Linked DNA regions of Homo sapiens: region 2 is linked to region 1. Evidence: promoter capture Hi-C in 16 types of primary human blood cells and fetal thymus (Javierre and others, 2016). All regions are on one chromosome and are shown on one strand. The core of a region is centred on a gene start or on the middle of the fragment in contact, and the rest is flanking DNA. Distances in the headings are between cores, read along the strand shown.

Evidence for each region. The method cuts DNA at HindIII sites, captures the fragments that hold promoters and counts their contacts. A CHiCAGO score of 5 or more calls a contact.
Region 2: a fragment that was not itself captured here is called in contact with the fragment with the promoter of FRY-AS1 in region 1 in 1 of 17 cell types (naive B cells); the score reaches 6.4 in naive B cells.

Annotation. Positions count from the first base shown.
Region 1 is chr13:32,029,286-32,033,306 of GRCh38, reverse strand. It overlaps FRY-AS1 (FRY antisense RNA 1), which reads left to right and starts at 1,668. Exons shown (of 4, transcript NR_103839.1): 1 at 1,668-1,856. It overlaps FRY (FRY microtubule binding protein), which reads right to left and starts at 1,533. Exons shown (of 61, transcript NM_023037.3): 1 at 1,442-1,533. The coding sequence starts at 1,511. The HindIII fragment of the contact is 3,062 bases long and covers 1-2,516 here.
Region 2 is chr13:35,168,161-35,172,558 of GRCh38, reverse strand. It overlaps NBEA (neurobeachin), which reads right to left. Exons shown (of 59, transcript NM_001385012.1): 25 at 3,564-3,572; 26 at 1,107-1,287. Among named protein-coding and RNA genes, the nearest start is that of NBEA, 230 kb to the right of the region's middle. The HindIII fragment of the contact is 4,581 bases long and covers 1-4,058 here.

The DNA.
Region 1 (4,021 bases), core at 419-2,918:
GCTCCATAAAGAACACTGTATGTCAAATTCTTTTCATTAATCAAAGAGCAGATAGACAAAGGAAGATTCATCCTTGAGTGTAAAGTATTATAAAAATAATGAGTCCAAGTTAAATGATTTATAGCTATGACAAGTAAAGAATGCTGTTTGGGCAACAGTATTACTCCCAAATGGCTTCCCACTTGTAGAAAAACAGCTTCAGACAAGCCCCATAGTGTATACAGTGGTGCAAAATGACCTGGAAAAAATGGTTTCTATGGATATCATTTAGAGATGCACATCCCTGAATACCTTAAGGCTGAAGGTACTTTAGCTCTTTTCCTCAAAGCAATTGCAGCACAGGTTCTCCTGCCCAGGTTTTGTTTATATAAGAACAATCTTGGCCACAGGTCATTTGTGTAGGAGACAATTAATCACTAGCTCTTTGAGCACAGGTAGGTTAATCAGTATGCACATAATACAATATTAAAATTTTCACGGGGAAAAAATTTTTTTATTTAAAACAATAAAGCATCAGTAATACCTGCTGATCTTTTATCCAAAGCAAGTACAAAGGCTGTTAGTGAAATAGAGAAGACTTTCTTTTTAAACAGTTCGGAAAATACAAGGCATCATTGATCACCTGAAGGCCTCATTTTAATTTGATTCCAGATCCACGGCAGCTTAGAGGTTGTCTTTTTGAAATAGCGTATTGCTAAAATCCTTATGTAGGTCAGAAATGGAACTTCAGGAGCCATCATATTCTGCTATCCTAATAAATAATTAGGGTCAGAACCTCACTTGTTTATGTTTCAAAAAAGCACAATATTTGGACTATAGCAAACATCAGGATTTTTAAAAATTCAAATATTAAATGGCATTCAGAACATCATCCACATGGAAGAGGGAGAGATGAAATAAATCTGCAGATGCCTCTATATACAAAAAGGATGTCCTAGGTTTTGGACTATTAAATACTTTTCTTTCTTCAGACAATACCCTAAAAAAACAATTACAAAGTACTCTGAAACCCTGCCACACCCCTTTGATTAAATCACACTTCACAAAATATTTAGAGAAAGCCTGAACAAATCAAATAAACATCAAGGCAGGAAATGCAGCCAGGAATGCCTGATCCTGAGCTCCCCCAGAGTCTGAAGGGCTGCCTCACTTGAAAATTTAATCAAACACAATCTACTGTAATTCCATTGCAGCCTTTGCACTTAAGGAAAGCTAGTTCAGTCTCTGACATTTTGATTTTCACAGCAGATGGGAGCAAAAAAAGAAAGAAAGAAAGAAAGAAAAAGAAAGAAAGAAAGAAAGAAAGAGAAAAGAAAAGAAAAGAAAAAAAGAAAAACTTCCGCGGCTCACAAACATATGTGTCCAGTTGAGATTTTCTGTCTCCAGCCTTATGCAACATCCAGCAAACAAACAAACAAAAAGGTTATTTTCTATTACTCACTATTACTCCAGGATTTCAGTAAATATTTGATACTGATCTCAAAGAAGCCCGAATCCTGCTGGCTGGCCATGTCTGCGGCATACAAAGAGGCTGGGAGGACGGGCAGCGGCCGGGAGCAGGTACCGGGCGTGATGCGCCTGTCACAGGTTGTGATGTCAGCGCGGGGTCAGGCGCCCAGAGGCAGCTCTGCGGATCCACCTCCGGCTCCGGCCGGGAGTGCTCATCTAAAGGACACGGCGGAGCAGAGAGAGATGCTCGGCCGCTCCTCCTCCTCCGGGTCCAGGACTTGCTTCTTATTTGCTGGACGCTGATCTCCCTGCAGCCCTCGGAGGCGGCGGCCGCGCTGCTTTCATTTCGGGGCTGTCATCACCAGAAACGCCGGCTGCCGGCCGCCCACCAGCTCGGCTCCAGCCAGGTACGCAACCGAGGAAGACCCCACCTGAACTGGGATCGGCTTTCTTCTGGGAGGGAGGGTTTCTAGGCCGGCCTCCCTGACGCGGTGCAGGCAGCCTCCGGCCCACACGGCCGCCGCGGGGCTAAGGGATGGGCCGGGAGCGCCGCCCCCTGCCCCTGCCCACTGTCTCAACCTGAGCCGCGGCTCAGTCTCCGCCTAGGCTGCGGGAGGAATTTCCCAGCTTCTGCGGATCCTCTCTCTTCAGCAAGGCTTCCCGTGAGCGGCCCGGGTGTGCTCTGGCTGCTGCTTCCCCTTGTGTCTGTCCCTGAAATAAACACAACTGCAGCACGCTGCGGTAAGCAAAGCTGCAGCCTTGCATCTGGTTGCAGCGACGTTTTGAAAAACCCCATCCGTCAGCCTCGTTGCAGTAAAGAGACTCAACAAGAGGACGCTTGTCTGGGCTTTTTCTTCCCTGCCTTCCACACGCATGGTGGTATCTGCATTTTTACTTTTCCCTCCCAGAAATGCAGTCTTTTCAAGGGGCATCGGAGCCCGAACGTGTGCACTCTAAGGGGACAGTACACACTGCTTAGTTGGCTTGTTTTTGTAATGTCACACACTCCACAATGGATCTTATTCTCAAACCTCTCATTTCTAAGACTCACTAAGCCCAGTGAAGCTTATTTTATTTGTATGAAAAGGATAAGAAGCAAAAGCATTAGATTCCTTGCTCTACAATGGCTCTTGATTTCATGAATTCTTGATATCAGGTGTCCTGATTTTGGTTAGCTTTGTTTCACATTATCATTTAGCTTGACCAGGGGATTAAATAAGAGTATTATATTTTAATAATGACAGGTTATGTTGGAAGAGGTGGGATTTGGCCAACTATCTCATAAACCACAGGATCCTTCCCAAGTCCCAGTACATTCATGATTAATGTTGTCTAAAAAACAGAAAAAAGTAATAAACCATGTTAATAAGTATTTAACATAGCAAATGTTGGGCTAACTCCCCAAATCAACACACAAACAGGACTTCCTAGATTAACAGTTCATTTTAAAAATGGAAGGGAAAGACTACAATGTACTTTTATTGTTAGGACAAAGAATTTTTAAAATTCAACACTAAATAAAACTTCTAGAACTATGTTCTGAAAGGCCCTAAGATACTTCATCAATACAATTAGTTTTTCAAACTCATTACACTTACCCAAATGGCAAGCACTCAATCACTCAGATTTCCAACTCCACTTATACACTTTATTCTGATGAAATCTCTCACCAGATTGACTTCTTTTTAATTCATGTGCATACTAGAGTTGCTGAACTGATTTTATCACTTGTACTTTGAATGTATGGATTCTAGGTAAAATAAGACCCAAAGGTTTTACCTTGAAACAATTATTATATCTGAAAATAAATTTCATACCTACGCCCATCTGATGCTTGCCAAGACTCAGATGGCAGTGAATGAACAGGTAGGCTGCACAGTGCCCTGCGATTAACGATGGCATGGGCTCTCAAGGCAGGGCCCCATGTTCGCTCCTGGCACCAGCCCTTACTAGCTTTGAGCCCCAAAGTAAGCTATTAACTTTGCTAAGCCTTCGTTTCCTCATCTGTAAAATGGGGTTGTACCTTCTTCCTATAGTTGTTGGAAACAATAAATAACACTATGTATGAAAGGGGCTCAGCATAGTATCTTGCCCATAGTTAACACTTCATTAAATTTTAGCTACATTGATTTTTTTTTTTTTTTTTTTTTTGAGACAATCTCACTCTGTCGCCTGGGCTGGAATGCAGTGGTGCAATCTTGGCTCACTGCAACCTCTGCCTCCCGGGTTCAAGCGATTCTCCTGCCTCAGCCTTCTGAGTAGCTGGGGTGACAGGCATGCGCCACCATGCCCGGCTAATTTTTGTATTTTTAGTAGAAATAGGGTTTCACAGTGTTGGCTGGGGTGATCTTGAACTCCTGACCTCAGGTGATCCACCTGCCTTGGTCTCCCAAAGTACAGACATGAGCCACTGCGCCTGGCCCATTCATTCTTATTATGAATCCTTAGTGACTCTAGAATAGAACTTTTTTTTAAAAAGCTAAATACTTTTTTTTCTTTACTCTTTATGTGGTTTAAAAGATATATTACTTTTGAACACCAGTGGTAACTATTTGGGGAGAGCAAGTTGGAG
Region 2 (4,398 bases), core at 519-3,018, 3.1 Mb before region 1:
ATAGGGAGTAAAGTCTTGGACTATATTTAAAAATAAAAGTACAGAATAACCAAATAAATGCAGGTTTCAAGATATTGAGCCATTTTAAAAATATATATATATATCTCTTTCTCACACAGTTCATTTGACAGCTCTTGTTATATGTCAATGGAAATGTCTTTAATGGCCCACCGTCAGTTAACCCACACCTCTTGGTTGCCAGAAAGATCTTAATGTGGTCAATCTTTCTCTTATAATGAATACAAAATGATTCCTCTCAGCTTGCCTGTCTTTAAATAAATAATACGAAACAAACAAACAAAAAAAGGTTTCATCCCACCATTCTTAAACCAAGTCTTTGTTCCTTTCTTGAATCAGAAAGGAATTTTTGACATAATCTTTAAAAGTTATGGGTGAAAACAGTACATATCAGGAACGTCCTTCCTATTTCATGCCTTGCAGTTCTTATGTCCTGCTCATGATCTAAGGCAAGTACAAAAACAGCAGTTTTCTGGTTTTGAAAGTCTAAATAGTGTAAATAAATGTTCCTTTTAAGAGAGGTAGAAATGGTTCTTATCTAAAGAATTCATTCAGATTTACTAAGAGGTTTCAGTGCTAAAGTTTCACTGCCACACAGATAAAAGGTGAACAGCATGGGTATAACAATATTTATTAGGGACATTTGTTCACCCCAAGAAACAGTAAGATTGGGATAGTTTATTTTAACCTTCTAGCATTATGTGTATCTGACATGTTTGTGAGGCCAGGACACTACCCTCAGTATTGGTTTACCAAAATTGGATTCATAAATGGATTTGCATTAAAAATCACTTCAATGACAAATGTTAGTCTTACTGATTTTGAAAGAATTCCAAGTATATTTCACTCTTGATTTCAAACTATGAACCATTAAAGATGATCAGTTCTGTGAAATCTCCAATGTGAAGGCATAATTTTTTAAAATTTAGTAATTCTGATTAATTATAAAAATAATCTCTGTATCTCAAGATAATCTCCATATTATATAATCATCAACTTATATCATTAATATTTTATGTACCATAGTGCTTTATAAAGCTGCTCTGTAGATAATTATTTGACATGCACTATTGTTTTAACAGACTTACCTAATCTTAGGCACTGTCGCATTAAACCTCCAGAAGACATGTTTTTCTCAGCTTCAATCTCACTAAAATTTAGAGAGCTTGCAAACACAAGTACATCAACCATAGCCATCAGCCGGCTGAGGAAAGTTACTGCTGTCTCAGCTGACATGCCTTGTGTCACTTCAATATTTTCCAATTCCGTCTTTAAAAAAGTAGAAGATTTAAGTCTTGTTTAAAATTTGGAAATTTGGAAATATAATACATATACATACATACTACAAGTGAACATAAATTTAGTATATTTACCATATTTTATAAATAAAATAAATGTTCAACTAATTCCATATATCACCAGAGCTGGTTACCAAATTCGGTTACTTTACCTATCAATTATCCTTGAATAAAGGAAAAGCCCATTTTAAAATCAACATTAGTTTTAAATGTCTTTAGTTATAAAAATGACATCCTAAACTTAAGATCATTTCACAAAGATATTTAGACAGAACCACATATATGTACTTATACTAGTTTTGTTTTGTAATTTATAAAGATTTTAAATTGATATTTCTTTTCTAAAATCTTCATTCCCATTAATAAAAATATATGCTTTGATTTTTCTTTCCTATAGATGTATGATGAATAATAGGGAAAATACATGGTAATTTAACTTAGTATCAAAATGAGATGGCTGTCAAATTAGAATGCATAACAATTTCTTATCCATTTTAGAATAAACTGAAACTACTAGGTACTTTACATGTACGATAAAACTCTAGGGTAAAAATAATCAAGATCGCTAACTCATCTATAGATATTTAATTCGTGACTTATAAAACACTAGTAATAAAAAGAATCATAGCATTCTAGATTGGAAAACTGTACTTTCACTACATTTCTGATTTCAGAGGGAATATTACAAAGCATTGTGTTTCTTAAAATGCACAACTTTATGGTTTTTTAAACAATGTCAACATTTCTTATTTTGTTTTGCACCATGGACTATACAGCATTTTAATTATTTTTGTTCCTTAGGACTAGGCCTCATTTTATCAGTGCCTCAAGGAACCAAGGAAGGGAATACTTCATAAGTAAAAAAAAATTATTTAAATTTTCTGAAAATGGACACACTAGCCATTCCAATCAATATTAACTCTTAACCAAATGATAAATTCAACTACAAGGTTAGCATATGTAATAGGTATCTATTCCTATTTAATGTTCCATTTTGACACTGTTTATAGCCATCATTATACCTAAACTTCTTCCTGCTTGGAAGAAGCAGGAGCATTAACATGGAAACGTGAGCAGAAAACACTGAAAAAAGAACTCAAAATACTCAAAACATTTCTTGTGCACAAAGTGGGTAATAAAAAGGATAGGTGGCTACTACAAGCATTATATAACTAAGCTCAGTTTTAAATGATGTATAAAATGTAACAACCATTCCTCCTTCCATTTAACAGCAAAATAGGGTTAAAACCATTCTCTCTAAAATGAGCCTGGAAAGAGACAGAAATGTGTTTTCAGTTGTTACAACATTATGCCAATTCAGTACACATGGCATAAAGAAATGATTAATTCATTACTTGGATTTTAAAATGCAGATTCTTTACTTCTTAGCACTTCATGAATATACAGCATCACTTCATAATATCAATTAAAAATCTATGACCATGACATCATAGCTCATAAGAAAGAGCAAAAAATTCATTTTAAATCTGTTTTCAATTTAAAATGTTCTATAAAGGAATGAAGAACTTGGCCATTTCTTAGGTCTATCAAATACTATAAATAATTTTTCAAATGTTAGAATTTAGAATATCTAGATCTGTGTTCACAAATTCTTCATCATTTTGAATCACTGAAATTGCAGATAGCTATCTCTCTATATTCATTATTTAATGGTTTTGAGTGTTTTGACCTGTCAAACTATGCTTTCATTTTAAAATGAGTGAATTATAAATAGAATTATTAAGGTGTCCATATAATCCATCAAAGTGTTTTTTTGACTGAAAAAATTAAATTTTAGAGTAGAAGGCACTTTCAACACAACAGTCTAAAAGAGAATTTGTATTCCATTTTATATAAAAGTAATTTAAAAAATGAAGTATGTAAGCATCAAAAGATAGGGCTAAAAAATAAAGATCACTCTCATACAATTATTAAATCTTAAAATAATATATTTCATCCAATTTACTTTCCTTAGAACCAATTAAAATCTGATTGTACATATGACTGTAACACCATTGTGTTCAATATGATAGTTTAATCTAGGGATTATTGTGCATAATAAAATAGTAATACATCAATGCATTGGGAAAATAATCCTTTCAATGACTCTTTTAAATATACAAAAGATATGTCTCATGTTAAAGATGATATGAAAACTCAAAATATAACCAAGTCAAAAATTTCATAAATAAGTAAAAATAAAACTTGAAACTGAAAGCTGAAAATTACTACAAAAGTAATACTAACCTTAGAACCCTGGACATGCATTAGACAAAACAGACAACAGACCAAAAAGTACAAGAAAAGGAAATTATTAAATTAAATGAAAATACAATGTAAAATTGAAACACAAAATAATATATTTAAAAATTATATTTGATTATTTTATTAAAAGCAAAATTCTCAGAAGAGATTTTCATTTTATAAATTATACATGATCAAGGTTAAATATCAAATATTTAGACTTCAACTTATTTTTATTGTAGTAACTCTGCCCAAATAATATATATAAGTATAGTTCATATATTAGAAATAATGCATACTCTATTTTACAAAACAAGTATCTTTTCCTATAATTAATGGAACATTTTAATAAATAAGCTAACATAATGCCTCTGCAAAATCCCTACCTCAATTCTGGTTTAGGCAGAAATGACTCAGGGAAATGAACTATTTATACCAACCTCTAGAATTTTCTATAAGGAAATAATGTAATTTGTATTCTCAAATATACAGAAAGCTTCCTATAGTTGAAAATTCTGAGAAGTTAATAAAATAACAAAATATTTGAGAGATTATAACTTATAAACCACTTTTCCATGCTAGAAAATAACTTGATATACTAAATGAGGCCTGAATATGAATAAAGGTAATTAAATAGGTATTATACTAAGTTTAAGATTCTTATTACATTAATAATTATATTCATTATATTCAAATATCAGATAGAATTAGTTTTCACAATAAAAATCATCAACTATTCTTTCTAATTTTTGACAAGTACATGTGAGTATAAATCTTAAAATATGCTATTTTCATGGTACATTGTATAGGAAAACATATAAAAGCATCCTGAGAATAG